Linked DNA regions of Homo sapiens: region 1 is linked to region 2. The links are contacts of gene promoters, found by promoter capture Hi-C in human tissues and cell types (Jung and others, 2019). All regions are on one chromosome and are shown on one strand. Each heading gives the region's core, a stretch centred on a gene start or on the middle of the fragment in contact. The rest is flanking DNA. Distances are from core to core; before and after follow the strand shown.

Region 1 (6,377 bases), core at 1,114-3,613, 37 kb after region 2:
TAAACGGTATAAGAAAAAATAGCTGTAGAATAAGCTAATTTTGATTCTCACCTCACTTCTGCTCAAACATATTTCAGATATGTTAAAATCACTATCAAAATACAACATAGCAAGCAAAATAAATCCAGAATTTTATTCAAAATAAAAAGAGCAATAGAGTTTATCTGAGGAGTGCAAAAAAAATCTTCAATGTAATCCATCACACTGGCAAATTAAAAGAAAAAATCATATTGTTATATCAGTAGATTTAGAAAATTCACTCAAATATCCCAACTCTGCTTATGATAAATAATCTTTAATTTATTAAAAGTGTATTGCCTCAAAACCTATAGCAAACTTCACACTGAATAGTGAAATCTTAAAAGAGGCTCATTAAAATCAGACACAAACATCCCTGTTATCACCTCCACAGTTTAATATTACACTGGGGATTCTGGCCGATGTAAAATTTATACTGTCAGATGAAATATCTATAAGGAAAATCCAAGAGAATCTCATTATGAACTGTAACTACTATTAAGTGAGCTCAACAGTTTGTTGGATAGATCCTTTACAAATTCAACAATAAAAGATATTTGGAAAATCCCCAAATGTTTTAAAATTAAGTAACACATTTCTTATATAACCATGGGTAAAAGAAGACATCACAAGAGAAATTAGAAAGTATTTTGTACCAATAAAAATGAAAATAAAAACATATCATTTGTCACAAAAATGTACATGAAATGTATATGCTGTATTATAGCAAATAATACAGCATATTAAAATCAGAATCAGTGACTCCATAGCACTTGGGTTTGAGGTCGAGTTGGGAACCATGTGCGGTGATGGAGACATTCTGTATTGTGACTGAGGTGCTGGGCCATATGGGTGTATATATTTGTCAAAACTCACCTGGCTCAGTGTGGTGGCTCATGCCTGAAATCCCAACACTTTGGGAGTCCAAGGCAGGAGGACTGTTTGAGTCCAGGAGTTTGAGACCAGCCTGGGCAACATAGTGACACCTTGTCTCTACAAAAAATAGAAAAAATTAGCTTAGCTGGGCATGGTGGCATGCACCTGTAGTCCCAGCCACTCGGGAGGCTGAGGCAGGAGGATTGCTTAAGCCTGGGAGGTTGAGGCTACAGTGAGCTGTGTTTGCAGCACTATACTCCAGAAAGGGTTCTTGAATCTCATGCAAGAAAGAATTCAGAGCGAGCCCATAGAGTAAAGCGAAAGCAACTTATTGGAAAAGTAAAGGAATAAAGAATGGCTACTCCATAAGGCAGAGCAGCCCCGAGGGCTGCTGGTTACCCATTTTTACAGTTATTTCTTGGTTATATGCTAAATAAGGGGTAGATTATTCATGCCTTCCCCTTTTAGACCATATGGTGTAACTTCATGACATTGCCATGGCATTTGTAAACTGTCATGGCGCTGGGGGGAGTGTAGCAGTGAGGATGGCCAGAGGTCACTCTCATGGCCATCTTGGTGTTGATGGGTTTTAGCTGGCTTCTTTACTGCAAACTGTTTTATCAGCAGGGTCTTTATAACCTGTATCTTGTACTGATCTCCTATTTCATCCTGTGACTTAGAATGCCTTAACTGTCTGGGAATCCAGCCAAGTAGGTCTTGGCCTCATTTTACCCAGCCCTTATTCAAGATAGAGTTGCTCTGGTTCACATGCCTCTGACAGTTGTGTAATTCAGTTGGTTATAATGAAGAGGAAATTATAATAGTCTTTGTAGAGATGGGTCTTTGATACTTAAAAGTACACTAATACAAAACTAAATAGTCAAATCAATATTTTATTACAAATATTTGACTTTTAATGCATGAAGTTTTTAAACTTTAACATTCTATCATCTGTCTTTAACATTCTTCAGATTGATAGCTCAGAAGTTCAACTCTTTCTCTTGTGAAAAGGCAAGGCCTTGAATGGTAGCTTTCTTCTTTACCTTTTGTTGTCTGCTGTTACTTTTATTAACTGTCTAAAATAAGTGAGATAATTTTCTTGAAAATTGGCAAATAAAATATCTTTTGAAACTGCCTTTTTATTCTGCATGCTTTTTATATCTCTATCTTTATTTGTGTCATGGGGAAGTGATATTTTACTACCAAACTACATGAAAGAGCTCTAATCAAGTAACTTAAAAAATGTTAAGTGCTTATCAGATTGGTAGAAGCTAGCTCAGATGCCTTTTAATTCACATGACTTGGTAATCTTCGGTAAAATAAACTTGGTAAATTTAATCTTAAAACTCTCCCCAGTAATTTAAAATTTTAAAGTCATGTTAAAAACCTGTTTTTTTCCCCCACTGGAAATTTGGGTTACTAAAATTTAAAATAGTTGGAGCGTAAAATATGCTTTTGGCAAAATTTTATAAAACACAAGGATGTCAATTTTCAAAAAAATGTAAGTTTTTTGGTTAAGAAACTAAGAGTAGCTTTATAATGAAAGAGAATTATACAGATAAAACTAAATGGATTAAAAAAGAAAGCAAGCCAGGGCAACAAAAGTTAAATCTGAACCCTGTGGTAAAGCCAAGTAATCATTAAAAACCAGAGGGCATAATGTAAATTGTTCCATTTTGTAGACTGGTATCATTCGGCTTCTTTAAAAAATCTTTAGTGGATTGTAAAAGCCACCACTTTTAAGGACAAAATTATTCATTTTAAATGCTACAGAATTTAAGAGCGTGTTTGGATTAATACAGGACCCACAGCTCACTACTGAACAATCACTGATGAGTATATGTGATCCAAATGAACAGAAGGTTATTCCTGAGAAAAGAATCAGCCTAGTGGACTGGATAAATCCAGTAAGGTCTGTTTGCCCTGAGAAGGGGACTGCCCAACTCTCTCTATAAAATACCAAGTGAAGCACCCCAGGTGAAGCATTAACATGCTTCATATGCAAGCCATGTTGGACTGGCTTTATGATAACTGAGGTATCTTCCCACCAAATATGCCTACTACTCAAGGTCATGGTAAATTTGGGGGTTAAGGGGCCCCCTTTTACATGAGTGCCCCTTGCACAGAATCATAGGACTGTTTAAGAAGCCTTATCCAATTTGCTGTCCCTCACAGGTCTTACAGACACAACTCCCTGCTGGGAACCCAAACTCTTTTCACCAGAAAAGGTAAAATAGACTGGGGGTGTAAAAGGGTTCCTGGGACCCGAACATAAAAACATAGAGTTTAATAGAATTATACAATTTATGATGTTTAAACAAGCTTTATGTAAGGTAGTTGTAACCCCTTTTACCTAAATGTCTTATGAAAATGGGTACTATGTCTAACTGGGGGACGTTTTCCTTTTCCTAGTACTGTAAAACTGAGGGCATGTAAATCTGCTCTTCTAGGAAATGTTATTTGAACACACTAAATAGGAACTAGTAAAATCGTCTAAGCCCACAAAGTATAGGGTAGGAGCTGGAGTGCTAATCGGGACAAATCCTCCACTGCGTAGCCCTTTGAGTGGAACATTTATCGGGGCCGATGACAAAGATCATGAGTACTTTTCAATGACAATGACTGAATTAGAGAATTTCCACTTGTTGGGGCATTTATTGCCTTGCCATGAAATATTAACTGAAGCTACCCCTATGCTAATAGAAATAATATTTCCCCAAAGAGTTCTGTGATAAAATAAAAATGGTTTACATAAAATCTTGCTACCTAATAAGAAGAGAGCCTCTTTCCTAGAACTAATTGTGAGGAGCTACTAAATGCTACAGTGCCTGATAGACAGCTCTCATGAGCTGTTTTGTTTGTAATTGGCATTTCCAAGGTAAACAAGCATCTGGTTTTAAAGCTGCTGCTCTGGTTAAAGAAAGGTTAAGAAAATCTTTCTTTTTCTTTTAAGCTATTTGGCTAAAGTATGTTTATTTTTTATTTTGTCTTTTTTGGGGGAGGAGTAAATTGTGTTTTTGTAAGCAAACTTACCTTTTGGGTTCACCAAAATTCAGATTGTAATTTTGTGACGATATAGTTGTCCGCATAAGTTCAATAAGAGTTTAAAAAAAAAAAAAATTGGAGGCACCGGTTATTTTTCCAAGACTTAAACTAAAATAGCGTATTGTTAGGTATAGTTCCAGCAAAGCCAACTCAAAAGGAGTATATATGGCCAATGAATTCTTGCTGCATTTTATGCAAATAACCATGCAAGCATAATAAACCTAAAACTTGCCTGGCACACAAATTGGTGTTGCTATAATTTCTCTTTAATTAAAAAAAAAAAGCAGCTAGAGAAGCTTGTTTCAAGGGAAAAGTGTAACACTTAATACTAGATTTCAGCCCTAACTTTTTTTGAATGCAGATTAAGTCATTTCTTGGCTACAATAATCCTATAGAGAGTACCAGATTATAATTTTTCTTCATATCTTTAGTTGGTACCCTAATAGAAGAGGTTTCTTTTTCTGTTCTGACATACAAATACTTTTTTTTTTTTTTTAAGATGGAGTCTCGCTCTGTCACCCAGGCTGAAGTGCAATGGTGTGATCTCAGCTCACCGCAACCTTTGCCTCCTGGCTTCAAGCGAGTCTCCTACCTCAGCCTCCTGAGTAGCTGGGACTACAGTCACTCGCCATCATGCTCACCTAATTTTTGTATTTTTGTAGAGACAGAATTTCACCATGTTGGCCAAGCTGGTCTTGAACTCCTGACCTCAGGTGATCCACCCGCCTCAGCCTCCCAAAGTGTTGGGATTACAGGCGTGAGCCACTGCATCCGGCCACAAATTACTCTTATAATTGTCAAACTAGAAGTGTTATTTATCTCTCCTTGTTTTACTTCCACAGAGACCAAAATCATGGTATTCTGAAGACCAGAGATATGAATCTCCCTCATGTGGCACCCCACTGGGCCGGAATCTGTTTCACTGCTGATACTCTGCTGCTAAGACTATAGACAAGCAGCCTCCCTTTTTAGGCCCAGGTACTATCGTGGAGGAGATGGGTGCATTAGACTGTAAGGGCTGGTTTTGAGGGATAAAATTAGGTCAAGGTCAAACCCTCCAAACCAAGAAGGGGTACAAAAATGCCTAAACAGCTGGTAAAACAAGTTTAGTTGCCTCCCAAAGTATGATGTGCTACTGTTGCATCCACCCCTACCATAAAAATTTTCTGCTTACGATAGAATTAAAGAAAAATATTTACTAACAGGATAAAAATACCTCGGAACAAAGCCTACTGGGTATAATACTTCAAATTATGAGTTGTAAAGATAAATATATCTATATCTATATATATACATATTTTCAATTATTTTTCAGAACAAGGCTTAGGTTTTGTATAGCTGATTGCTATAAGTCTGTAACAAAAACCAAGCTTACAGTAACTCAACACATAGAAGTTAAAAATAAGTCAGTCTTGTAACTTTGCCTTTTGGTTTTGTTTGTCAGCTTTTTTTTTAACTTAAAATAATAATTTTTAGACGTAATGAATGCCTGTCCACATCCACTCCTATCTGGCCTAGAACAATTAATTGGCTATAAGTCTTTTGACTCTTAGGCCCTCAGTCACAGAGAGTCCCGCTGAGGGACAAGAAAATGACACCATAGAATTATGTGACTTCTGTGACAAAATTTCCTTTTCTTTCCCAAATACCATCAGTAGATGGTGCAATACAAAAGCGGTGGGAAAAATAGATTTGTCTACTGTTAACAGGTCCTATGTTCTTTTTTTTTTTTTTCCTCTTTTTTTTGAGACGGAGTCTCGCTCTGTCGCCCAGGCTGGAGTGCAGTGGTGTGATCTCGGCTCACTGCAAGCTCCGCCTCCTGGGTTCACGCCATTCTCCTACCTCAGCCTCCCGAGTAGCTGGGACTACAGGCACCCACCACCACGCCCAGTAATTTTTTTTTTGTATTTTTAGTAGAGACAGGGTTTCACCGTGTTAGCCAGGATGGTCTCGATCTCCTGACTTCGTGATCCACCTGCCTCAGCCTCCCAAAGTGTTGGGATTACAGGCGTGAGCCACTGCGCCCAGCCAACAGGTCCTATGTTCTATGACAATTTAGACACAGAGGCCCAGGCGTTTCTTGCATTTGATTTATACCCTCCTCAGGATGTCATACCTATTGAGACAGCCAAGTAAAAAGGGCTCCCCGGAGAACCTCTAAATGGCCTACACACTGGGAGGAGGGCGCACGGGGCTGGAGCCTCGGGAAGTTTGCAAGTTTGCAGTGGGGAGGACCCTGGCCTCTTCTGTTCCTGGGTGGTGTCCTGGGATTCAATCTGTGAGGTGGGAACCCTGCTAGCAGGACTCTCCCTTTGCTGAGAGTCCCTGTTTCCATTTTTTCCCTTTTTACCCAATGAATTCCATTTTTCTCATCCTTCTATGTGTCTGCAACCCTAATCTTTCCTGGTTGTGTGACAAGAACCCTAAGGAGAAAGTCC
Region 2 (6,328 bases), core at 2,699-5,198:
TAAGAGACTAGGCCTTCCAATAAAGCAGAATTCATTATTATCATTATTATCTTGCTTCTAGCCCTCTTCTCAGCCAGATTCTGTTTTGCTCCTTCATCCCTTCTACTAATACTGATTGAGTGTGATATTGCTGGGGATTCAGAAGATTAAGGCTGTGTTCTGCACAGAGCACAGCACAACCCACTAAGTTTTGGGCAGATACAAGTAGTGGATGATCCGAGCCATTGTTTGCATGCATGGGACCTCAGACTTCCTGGGCTGGGGGATGAGAGCATGGGGGAGGGGTGGGACGAGGTGGTGGTGGTTATCTGGGGTGCCCTCTGCTGGCCAGCACTGGACTAGCACAGGGCAGCACCCCACCCACCCCTCGGGTCACTGCCTGGCCCTTTCATTCAAAGGCCGGGATACTTCAGTTGTCATTAGGCACTAATTTGCCAAGAAAGGTTGGGAGGCAAAAGCATTCAATATGCTGCTGAAAATTACAGGACCCTTGTAATGTCAAGGGAAAAACAGATATGTCTTCAATCTTAAATGCTAGAGATAATGGGAAATAATAAGAACGATCTATCGTCTGGTGCTGTGCTGTCTTTTCCCTGTTTTATCTCATTTAATCTTCCTAGTAACCCTTAAGAGGTAGAAAAAAAAATCTTATGTTTTTCAAAATAGGAAACTGAACTTCAGTTACACTGGGATTTGAATTGAGGTCAGTCCAGTTTCAGGGAAGCGTTCTTAAATGTCTCTCATGATAGATACGGACAAATGCCCAGTGGTATACTGTTAAATGTTTAACAAACTCTCCAGGAACGATCAATACAAAGCTCGGATTTGTAGAGTTTGCTGATTTCTCACTAGAACCAAGTTTGAAGCTGCTAACAGGATGTCAGTCAGCCTGCCAAGTTTCTGAATACTTAACAAATGGCTCTCTAGCACAAAAGAGACTCCCCTCAGGAGTCACAGAGCTTTAAGATCTGCCAAGGACGGTGGGGACAATCCAGCCCATCTCAAGCTCCGTGTAGAAGTTTCCCCTTCGGTGTTCCCAAGATAAAATCTGTCACATTTCAGACCCAAGGCAGTTTTATTATTAAAGTGGCCAGTTTGGGCTGGACACAGTGGCTCACGCCTGTAATCCCAGCACTTTGGGAAGCTGAGGCGGGTGGATCATCTGAGGTCAGGAGTTCGAGAGCAGCCTGGCCAACATGGGGAAACCCCGTCTCTACTAAAAACAACAAAAATTAGCTGGGTGTGATGGCGGGCGCCTGTAATCCCAGTGACTCGGGAGGCCGAGGCAAGAGAATCGCTTGAACCCAGGAGGTGGAGGTTGCAGTGAGCCTAGATAGCGCCATTGCACTCCAGCCTGGGCAACAAGAGCGAAACTCTGTCTCAAAAAAAAAAAAAAGGCTAGTTTTAATAACTCCAGAGCTCTTCCTTAATAATAATAATATTGTACTCCCCTAAAGCACGTGAATTACAAAATCCTCATCTCATTTTTTCCCCTCATAGACCCCAGCAAATTATTTATTTCCCATTTTACATAAAGGAAATGGACCTTCAGTGAGGGTCAGTCATTTGTTGCCAGTTTCAGCTCAGTGGAGAAGTGGGACTCTGATGGGGCCCGAGGTCCTCCCAATCCAAGCTCCACATTTTTACCACTGAAACTGCTTTTCCATGAGGTTTCACACCTGCAATCTAGCATGGCCTAGGGGCTTTGGTTTTCCTCCTCAGAAGTTCCAGCTCAAATAGTTTTACTAATCAATTGAAAACTGGCAAGTGGTTACTTAACTCTCACTGAAGCAGCTGCGGGGAGAGAGGTCTGGCCATGCCTGTGGGGCCTGGAATCAGAGGCTCTTCCTTCTGAGTTCTACAGGGACTGCCTCCAACCAGAATGCAGGAATCCTGCAGAGGCCCTGACCTCTGGGTGGATACTATCACACCATTCAAAACACACACACACACATACACACACCACACACCACACACACACCACACACCACACATATACACCACACACTACACACACACCACACGCTACACACACACCACACATACCATGCACATACACACACCACACATACACACCACACACTACACACACACCACACGCTACACACACACCACACATACCATGCACATACACACACCACACACACCACACACATATATACCACACACATACACACACCACACACATACACACACCACACACACACCACACACATATACACACCACACACACACACCACACACACATCACACACACATCACACACACCACACATACACACACCATACACACACACCATACACACACACCACACACATACACACACCACACACTACACACACCATATACACACACCACACACCATACACACACACCACACACCATACACCACACACCACACATACACACACACACCACACACTACACAGACACACCACACATACACACACACCACACATACACCACACACACACACCACACAGACACACCACGCAGACACCACACACCACACACAATCTCAAGGGGATTTCAAATCCCTCAGACTGAATGTCTGTGGTAAGAGGTGGGTTCTAGGGGCAAGCTCTTGCGGGGAAGGGCCATAGCCGGCAGGACCCCGTGGCTTAAGGCTACTGACCAGATGGAGTTCTTTCTGAAACTCCTCTTTGTGATTTTTCTTTTTGAGTTCCAGGCAGTTGTTCTTCAGACCCCTATACTTCTCCTTGCCATCCCCCTTGTCTGTTTTCACGATGTCCTTAGTTCCGCTGAGCTCCACGGAGTAAATTTCTGGGGTTTTCTGAAAGAGAAGCCCAGGTGCAATATTGGCCCCAAATGGGGTTTCCGAAGAGGTGCTGAGCGCCCCTCTGCGGGGTCAGGACCTGCAGGAGTCAGGAGCCCCTTCTCCCTTTCCTTCCCTCCTCTGGGGAGGCCGGAGGGAGTCGGACAGTGGAGTCTCTCCCCCACCTCCCGCCGACCTTGGCTTCCTCTCCGTCCGTGTAGAGGGGAGGCGGGGTGGGCACAGGCCAGCCAGCAGCTCCTCAGGGTGACCCTTCTCTGGGTGGAGCAGGTGGGAAGTTACCCCCCCAACTCCTGACTGATGCCTCCAAGGAGCTGTGAGGTTTCCTTAGAACCTCGAGGTTCCTTAGGCACCTCGAGGTTTCCTCTGAGGTGTCCTTCCCAGGGGACACAACAGCTGTGCGTCCTGTTTCTTGGGGAGGAGGCACCCACTAAGCTTACGACCCTCAGTCCTGATCAGGGGGCCCTAACCGGAAGTCTTTTCAGACCGCAACGAATCCATGTCACCCCATCCTCCGAGTCGGAGCCCGCAGGTGCCATGGAGCTGGCCTAGGACCCCTTGGCCCCTTCTCGCTCCTCTGGACTGGCTTCTTTCCCCAGCCAGCCCCGGCGGCCGCACGGAGCCGTGGCGGGGAGTCAGAGAAGCGGTGCCCAGGCCGGGGGGCGCTCAGAGGAAAGGCGGCCTCCCCTTGCCCCGGGACGGGGCGTTTCTCCTCTTCGCCTTTTCCTCGCTTCCCGTCAGCCTGCTCCGGTCCCCGGGGCCTTGGCCCAGCGTCTCGCATCCTCGGCCGGCGCGGGGGCTGCACGCACCTGGTGCATGCTGGGCTGGTGGCGCCGCGGGCTGCGGGCGTGGAGCGCGGATCCGGGACCGCAGCGGCGGAGCGCACGGTGGGGGGCCTCGTGTGGCTGTGGCAGTGGCAGTGGCTGAGGTGTTGGCGGTGGAGATACCGGCGGCGGCGCGGGCCCTGCACGCACCTCCGCGGCCGATCGCCAGCCGCTGCACCGGGGAGGTGGCACCAGCCTTAAATGCCGCCCGCCCCGCCCACGTCCCCGCCAGGGCGCAGGCCAGCGGACGCCTCGGAGGGTAGGAAACCCGCCGGCGCGCGCGCAGGGAGGGGGACCGACAGCTAGGGGTCGGGAGAGTCCAGGATTGAGGACCCCCTGGGAATCCCCTTCCCTTTAGTAGCCGAACGCCAGGGGGCGGGGTCTCTAGGGGGCGGGTCCGGCATCCAGGTGAGTACAGCCCTGGTTCCGCTGGGCGCCCAGAGCCGGACCAGCTGCTCCGGCGAGCTCCCGGCACGCCCACGTCCTGTCCAGGCTTCCCTGAAAACCCACACATGCCTTTTTTTAAAAATGTAATTTGCCTACCAATAAATCAATTTATAAAAATGTGTATGCAGAGAAGGGGAAATTGCAGTTTCTAACAGCAACTACTGTTGGAGATGTCCCGGCTAGAAAAGGCCAATGTGTTTTTGAGAATGGATTTAGATAGGTAAATTCAAGCTTCCGAGAGAATTTGGGAATAACTGAGAGACTCTGAAGAGTAGCTGAATTAATTTGCCGGATCCAGATAAGAATTTGGAATTCTGAAACAATTTGGAGAGGGAATGGGGAGGAGAGATGAGAGGATTAGGGTCGGTGAGACCACAGGAACCTGGGGCCCCAGGCTGCGGGTGCGCAGGAGCGGAGGCTGTTGGCTGGACTGGGCTGGAGAGGTCTGTCTCCACCTATTTATGTCACTCCCAGCTGAGACTCTATACATGAAGGAGAAAAGAATTTCTGACCCTGAAAGTTGATGTGCATACTAAAGCAGTGGTTGTTTTATACTGCTAAGTTTGGGTTGGTTTGTTATGCAGCAATAGATAACTGGGACATGCTCCATGCTCTTAGTGCCCAGCATGAGTTTTTGCACAGGATAGAAAAGGTATTTTCCCCCTGACACTTGAAACATAATTACTCCAGATGAGAAAGATAGCCTGAAAACAATATATCAGAGAGATATTTAGCAGTTAACAGTGGAGGAAATCAAACACGTTCTTTTAAAAGAATGAATCGTGAAGTCTTAAAGTCAGTGAAGAATATTAATTAATGGAGAGGAACATAAAAAATAAAACCCACGAATAGAGTTTAGTAATCAGCACCTATTTAGAAGAACAATAAGAAATTGACATGATTGAAATATATGAAAGGGAGTAGAGATAAGTTTCAAAAGAGGGGGCACTTTATTGGGCCCTTGATGCTCTGCTAATAAGTTTCCATTTAGATAAGGACTAATAGGAGGGTGCTAAGTTTTATTCTTTTTGAAAGTTATATATCAAATATGGTAAGAAAGATTGTCATTTTGACCATATTTAAAATGACTAAGAGTGAGGAGTCCAGAGAAGCAGCAAAAGTAACAATCCCATCATGCAGTGACTAGAACATCTGGCAGAAAACATGAAGAGCATTGGGTACATTTAGAAAAGGTAGAAGAAAAACAATAAGCTTGTGCCCGGCCGGGCGCGGTGGCTCACGCCTGTAATCCCAACGCTTTGGGAGGCCGAGGCGGGCGGATCACGAAGTCAGGAGATCGAGACCATCCTGGCTAACACGGTGAAACCCCATCTCTACTAAAAATACAAAACAATTAGCCGGGCATGGTGGTGGGCGCCTGTAGTCCCAGCTGCTCGGGAGGCTGAGGCAGGAGAATGGCATGAACCCGGGAGACGGTGGAGCTTTCAGTGAGTGGAGATCGCGCCACTGCACTCCAGCCTGGGCGACAGAGCGAGACTCTGTCACAATAAAAAAATTAAAAAAAAAATAAGAAAAAAAAGCTTGTGCCCAATTCTAATTAGGAATTAATTATAACTTCCTGTTCCTTTCAGATGCTAAATTTCCATAATAATTTCAGAGCATGACTATAGTTGGTGGTGAGGGACAATTGGGAAAAGAAGCTTATTTTGAGGGAATTTGAAGTGTTAGCAGTTAGAGACGTGGTTTTGTAAAGTAGCAGTAGAGACAAAGATACTTTCTCATGGCATATTTGTGATCTTAGATTTTCCACACCTCTCTGTTCATCATGGCTTTCAAATGAGACTAAGGGAATGTGTTGTACCCGACATAGTGAACTGTCTCCATAGTGCTGCACACATAGGTCTTTCCCCGCTCTCCCTCCTTCTTCCGTTCCAAAAGGGCAGAATCTGAAGCCTGGGTTCCTCCCTCTGTGAAGCAAGGATGACAGCAATGAGTCACTTCTTAACTAAAATGATAAGGGACAGGAAGACTCCTAGTGGCATCTGGTGTAAAGATACACATCATGGATTCTCTAGAGTTGGAGGGAACATTAAATTCTAGTCCAAACCCAAGCAACAGTGTGCTTCTGGGGAGCTCTGGGTTCCATTCTTGGAATACTCTTCAAAGGAAAGGTTTGCAGATGGGGTGAGAAATACAAAATGTGTACGAAACTGATGTTCCACTGTCTGCTGATAATCCAAGCTAAGGGTTTTTTGGGAACAGGTGGCTGCTGCTCACCTTAAGCTGTTCCAGCCCCTGCTCC

What was found. The method cuts DNA at HindIII sites, captures the fragments that hold promoters and counts their contacts. A contact is called where the count stands out against the background at its distance.
Region 1: a contact is called between a fragment that was not itself captured here and the fragment with the promoter of ATP12A in region 2, in 2 of the 25 tissues and cell types used here (H1 embryonic stem cells and mesendoderm cells).

Annotation. Positions count from the first base shown.
Region 1 is chr13:24,639,470-24,645,846 of GRCh38, reverse strand. No RefSeq gene overlaps it. Among named protein-coding and RNA genes, the nearest start is that of ATP12A, 38 kb to the left of the region's middle. The HindIII fragment of the contact is 4,818 bases long and covers 1-4,772 here.
Region 2 is chr13:24,678,028-24,684,355 of GRCh38, reverse strand. ATP12A (ATPase H+/K+ transporting non-gastric alpha2 subunit) reads right to left here and starts at 3,948. Exons shown (of 23, transcript NM_001676.7): 1 at 3,604-3,948; 2 at 2,636-2,794. The coding sequence starts at 3,612. RefSeq lists silencers at 211-300, 3,591-3,900 and enhancers at 716-1,215, 1,216-1,717, 1,817-2,397. The HindIII fragment of the contact is 3,620 bases long and covers 1,168-4,787 here.